Linked DNA regions of Homo sapiens: region 2 is linked to region 1. The links are contacts of gene promoters, found by promoter capture Hi-C in human tissues and cell types (Jung and others, 2019). All regions are on one chromosome and are shown on one strand. The core of a region is centred on a gene start or on the middle of the fragment in contact, and the rest is flanking DNA. Distances in the headings are between cores, read along the strand shown.

What was found. The method cuts DNA at HindIII sites, captures the fragments that hold promoters and counts their contacts. A contact is called where the count stands out against the background at its distance.
Region 2: a contact is called between the fragment with the promoter of TMIGD2 here and the fragment with the promoter of CELF5 in region 1, in 1 of the 25 tissues and cell types used here (spleen).

The regions. Positions count from the first base shown.
Region 1 is chr19:3,223,265-3,226,166 of GRCh38, forward strand. It overlaps CELF5 (CUGBP Elav-like family member 5), which reads left to right and starts at 1,397. Exons shown (of 13, transcript NM_021938.4): 1 at 1,397-1,734. The coding sequence starts at 1,476. RefSeq lists a silencer at 1,218-1,337. The HindIII fragment of the contact is 19,492 bases long and covers 1-2,902 here.
Region 2 is chr19:4,301,025-4,303,926 of GRCh38, forward strand. It overlaps TMIGD2 (transmembrane and immunoglobulin domain containing 2), which reads right to left and starts at 1,365. Exons shown (of 5, transcript NM_001169126.2): 1 at 1,316-1,365. The coding sequence starts at 1,361. RefSeq lists an enhancer at 826-1,371. The HindIII fragment of the contact is 29,023 bases long and covers 1-2,902 here.

The DNA.
Region 1 (2,902 bases), core at 147-2,646:
ACAGAGTTTCACTCTTGTTGCCCAGGCTGGAGTGCAATGGCGCAATCTCGGCTCACTGCAATCTCCGCCTCCCGGGTTCAAGCGATTTTCCTGCCTCAGCCTCCTGAGTAGCTGGGATTACAGGCATGCACAACCATGCCTGGCTAATTTTTGTGTTTTTAGTAGAGACAGAGTTTTCTCCATGTTGATCAGGCTGGTCTCGAACTCCTGATCTCAGGTGATCCACCTGCCTCAGCCTCCCAAAGTGCTGGGATTACAGGTGTGAGCCATCGTGCCTGGCCTGTTTTCTTATTTTTTACAGCAATGGCGTCTCACTATGTTGCTCAGGCTGGTCTCCAACTCCTGGGCTCAAGTGGTCCTCCTGACTCTGCTTCTCAAAGTGCTGGGATTACAGGTGTGAGCCACCACGGCCAGCACGTATTATTATTTTTATTAATATTATTGATGAGTTTCATACGTAAAGGATCACGGGCACTTTAGAGCTGGGAGATACTTCAGTATTTCTCCTATCCTGTCATTATCAGTGCGAGCCAGTCTCCCTCCTTGTTGATGACATTATTGATGAGTTACATACTTAAAGGGCCAAGGACACTTTCTATGTGTAAGCACCCTATAGAACTGGAAGATACTTTTACCATTTCTCCTGTGCTGTCGTGATTAGTGGGAGCACTTTGTCTTGCTCTTGATTAATTATTATTAGTGTTGTTATTATTAGGTGTTTTTTTTTTTTTTTTTTACCAAGACGGAGTTTTGCTCTTGTTGCCCAGGCTGGAGTACAATGGCACAATCTTGGCTCACTGCAACCTCCGCCTCCTGGGTTCAAGTGATTATCCTGCCTCAGCCTCCCGAGTAGCTGGGATTACAGGCACCCCCCGCCACCGAGCCCAGCTAATTTTTGTATTCTTTAGTAGAGACGGGGTTTCACCGTGTTAGCCAGTCTGGTCTCGAACTCCTGACCTCAAGTGATCCACCCACCTCGGCCTCCCAAAGTGCTGAGATGACAGGCGTGAGCCACCGCGCCCAGCCATATTATTAGTGTTATTAATATTATTGATGAGTTACCTACTTTAAGGATCACGGGCGCTTTCAACGACAAGCCCCCTACATTATCCCAGCAACTTTTGACATTCTTCCGGCCGATGCCCTCCGCGGGAGCCGGCGGGGACCCCTGGGAAGCCGGCTAAGGCCCGTCCCGCCCGCAGCTCCGCCCTCGCCCACCCGTAGGCGGGGCCCGGGGCCTTCCGGCCTCAGTTTCCCCCCGCGGCCCGGGGATGCGGGGAGGCGCCGGCTGCCCCGCGCGGCGCGGCCGCCAGGGGCCGCTGCGGAGCCGCCTTTGTGGTCCCGATGCCGGGGCGGGCGCGGGCGGGAGGAGGGCGCGGGGGCCCGGGAGGGAGGCGGGAGGCGCGGCCGCCGCTCCAGCTGCGAGTCCGCCCGCCGCCCGCCGCCGCCGCCGCCGGCTCGGTCCCGCGCCCGCCATGGCCCGCCTGACGGAGAGCGAGGCGCGCCGGCAGCAGCAGCAGCTCCTGCAGCCGCGGCCCTCGCCCGTGGGCAGCAGCGGGCCCGAGCCCCCCGGGGGGCAGCCCGACGGCATGAAGGACCTGGACGCCATCAAACTCTTCGTGGGCCAGATCCCGCGGCACCTGGACGAGAAGGACCTCAAGCCGCTCTTCGAGCAGTTCGGCCGCATCTACGAGCTCACGGTGCTCAAAGACCCCTACACGGGGATGCACAAAGGTGGGCGCCCGGCCCCCTCCCCCCTCTCCCCCTCCCTCCGCCTCCCACCCCACCTTCCGGCATCTTCTCTCCCCCATCACCATCCCTCCTCTGCTCACCTCCCTCCTCTGCCTGCCTCTGCCGGAGCATCGGTTCTTACCCCCTCCCTCCCACCCACCCCTCCTCCCCTCTCTGGGGGTGCAGCTGACAGATCCGAGCGGGCCCCCTCCCCTCCTCCGCCCCCTCTCCCTCCCTCCCCACCTTCCGGCATCTCCTCTCTCTCTCCCTCTCTCTCTCCCTCTCTCTCTCCCTTTCTCTTCTCTCCCATCTCCCTCGACCTCTCATCCTTCCCCCCACAGCACCCTCTCTCTCCCTCCCTCCCTCCCTCACCCTTCCATCCCCCAGACCCCCACCCCTTCCTCCCTCCCTCACCCCACTCTTTCCTGCCCGTTTGCCAGGGGAGCCTCGGGAACGCCGGCACCCCTCCCTGCCCCCCCACCCCCATTCATTCAGCCTCCCCAGGCCCCGTCGGGGAAGTTTGCACCTGCGGACTCCATTGCTTTGGTTATTTTCACAAAGCCAGGCCGGCGGGGCAGGTCCGGCCGCGGGGGACACGGATGCCCAGGACCCCAGGCTAATCGGTAACTACAAAGGAAGACGGGTTGGGGGCGCCCGGCTCGGGGGGACGCGCCCGCCTCGCCTGCCTCGGGTGGCGGAGAGGCTCCCGTCGCTGCCCACCCCCTGGCCCCACCACCTCCGCGTGGATCAGCATTCTCTCCTCCATTTCTCTGCCCTCCCCCTCCCCCGCCTCCACCTTGGGCTCAAGTTGAAACTGGCCGAGCCTCTTAGCAATGTGTTGGGGTCTCAGGCCCAAGACAATGAGCTTGGACGTGTCCATCTGGGCAGAGCCCAAATTCTGGGGTGGACAGGGAGGAGGAGGGAGGCGTGGGCGGCCTCAGGCCTGTCTGCCTCCCTCCCACTGGATTCTCCCTCCGATGGCATCCCGGGTGGGGGTGTCCGGCAATTGTATCCCCAGCCCTTGGTTCCCATCATGGGCCCAGCGTCTGAATTGGGGTGGCTTTGACAGCCTTCCGGTCAGGTGTTGGGGACTGGGGGTGCCACTTCAAAGGCCTTGTGCTGGACACCCCCGGCCCTCCCCCTCCCATCCTCCAGGAAGACCCTGGAGAGG
Region 2 (2,902 bases), core at 115-2,614, 1.1 Mb after region 1:
TGCAGTGGTGTGATCTCGGCTCATTGCAACCTCTGCCTCCCAGGTTCAAGTGATTCTTGTGGCTCAGCCTCTTGAGTAGCTGGGACTACAGGCACTCGCTACCACGCCCAGCTAATTTTTGTATTTTTGGTAGAGATGGGGTTTCACCAACATGGCCAGGCTGGTCTGGAACTCCTGACCTCAAGTGATCCACCTGCCTCAGTCTCCAATTTAAGTTTTAATAAAAAGACCTTGGTTGGGTGTGGTGGCTCATGCCTGTTATCCCAGCCCTTTGGGTGGCCAAGACTGGGTGATTGCTTGAGGCCAGGAGTTCAAGACCAGCCTGGGCAACATAGTGAGACCCATCTCTAAAAAACAAAAATGACTGGGCACGGTGGCTCACGCCTGTAATCCCAGCACTTTGGGAGGCCAAGGTGGGTGGATCATGAGGTCAGGAGTTCGAGACCCACCTGGCCGAGATGGCGAAACCCCGTCTCTACTAAAAATACAAAAAAAATTAGCCAGGCGCAGTGGCGCGCGCCTGCAGTCCCAGCTACTCGGGAGCCTGAGGCAGGAGAATCTCTTGAACCTGGGAGGCAGAGGTTGCAGTCAACCGAGATCGCGTCACTGCACTCTAGCCTGGGTGACAGAGCAAGACTCCTTCTCAAAACAAAACAAAACAAACAAACAAAAAAACACAAATGAACAACAAAAAAGTGCAAGCGGCTGGAATCAGAGGAGAGGGAAAGAGGAATGGAGGTTTTCGCCCCAGGAAATGTGTGAAGGGCAGCAGCCTTTGTCCTTAATTGGAAACACAGAGGGAGCTGCTGCCGGAGTAGAAAGTCTGCTTTTAGCTGTGAGAAGTCTGACGTGTCTGTTAGACCCCCGGAGAAGTTGAGGTTATGTGAAGTTCCTGGCATTTGAGATGCAATTGCAGAGGAGGGTAGAGACATGAGATCTGGAGAAGGGTATTAGGCAGCTGGAACAGCAGGTGCAAAGGCTCGAAGGCCAGATCCAGCCTTCCCATTGCGGAAACAGAGAAAGAAAAGTCCCCAGGCTAGAGCAAGAGGGAGGGAGCAAAGGCACTGCGGAGGGTGGAGATGAGAGAGGCCAGGCCAGGCTGGTATGTAGGGCAAGGTTTAGATTGTATCCTAGGGGCCCTCAGAGGATCCTTCCTTAATCCTCCAGCCCCCATCACGTTCTGAGTCTCGGAGGGAGATGGGCCTTATCTGACAGTAGAGAGACTGAAGTTTAGAGGGGCCCTGAGCTGGGGGGCAGGCAGCTGGGGATGACAGCAAGAGTGGGGTTCAGAGGGGAGGGAGGCCCAGATACTCACCCCAGATCTGCACCAGGAGGCCCAGCACCATGCCCGGGGACCCCATTCCTGGCCCATCACCCCCCTCTCCCCCTCCCAGTTGACAGACTTCCTGCCACAATCTCCGCCTCCCGCTGCAGAAGCAGATGCAACACCCAGGGCCAGACAACAGACGTCCGGTGTTCCAGCCTGCTGGGGGCTCCACTTCCTGCCACCTCGTGCCTCAGTTTCCCCAATGCATTTTCTATCTGAAAGGCAGTGTACGGACCAGGCAACATGGCTCATGTCTGTAATCCCAGCACTTTGGGAGGCCGAGGCAGGTGGATCACCTGAGGTCAGGAGTTCGAGACCAGCTTGGCCAACATGATGAAACCCCTACTAATTTCTACTAAAAATACAGAAATTAGCTGGACATGGTGATGGGCGCCTATAATCCCAGCTACTTGGGAGGCTGAGGCAGGAGAATGGCTTAAACCCGGGAGGCGGAGGTTGCAGTGAGCCAAGATCACGCCACTGCACTCCAGCCTGGGCGACAAGAGTGAAACTCCGTCTCAGAAAAAAAGAAAAGAAAGGCAGTGTATGCAAGTGAGTGGGAGGAATCCACCCCTGTGAGCTTTCTGGAAGGCTCTACATAAACACATCTAGGTACAGGAAGACACAGTGCGAGAGCAGGTGGCTCCGTGGGGGAGGGGCAGGCGACATAGGCCTGAGCAGTGAGTTAAATGACAGGGTCCCTGCCTCAATTATTTTGCTCCCAAAATGTCTTTCTTTTGCTGGGCGCTGTAGCTCACACCTGTAATCCCAGCACTTTGTGAGGCTGAGGTGGGAGGATCACTTGAGCCGAGTTTAAGATCAACCTGGGGTAACACAGCGAGATCCAATCTCTATTAAAAAAAAAAAAAAAAAAAAAAAGATACAGGCTGGGCATGGTGGCCCAGGCCTGTAATCCCAGCACTTTGGGAGGCCAAGGCGGGTGGATCACCTGAGGTCAGGAGTTCAAGACCAGCCTAGCCAACATGGCAAAACCCGGTCTCTACTAAAAATACAAAAATTAGCTGGGCCTAGTGGTGGGCGCCTGTAGTCCCAGCTACTCAGTGGGGTTGAGGCAGGAGAATCGCCAGAACTGGGGAGATGGAGATTACAGGGAGCCGAGATCCTGCCACTGCACTCCAGCCTGGGCGACAGAGTGAGACTGTGTCTCAAAAAAAAAAAAAAAGATACAAAACCAACCCAGGGTGATGGTGCATGCCTATAGTCCCAGCCACTCGGGAGGCTGAGGCAGGAGAACCGCTTGAGCCCAGGAGTTGGAGGCTGCAGTAAGCCATGATTGCGCCCCGTTACTCCAGCCTGGGCAACAGAGTGAGTCCGTCTCTAAAAAAAAATAATAATAATAATTTAAAAAATCTTCCTTTGAGGTTCAGAGAAATAGATTTCTGTTGATAACTTTGGGTCCTATTACATGACCTGCTTGGGGGTCCCGTGGAGGAGGTTCATGGGCTCTCGAGTTCCTCCCAGCCCTGCATCCCTCACCCCTGATTCTGTAGTGCATTCTGGGAGGAGGTGGCGAACCCACAGACCTCAATGTCTCAGACCCAACTGCAGAGTGAC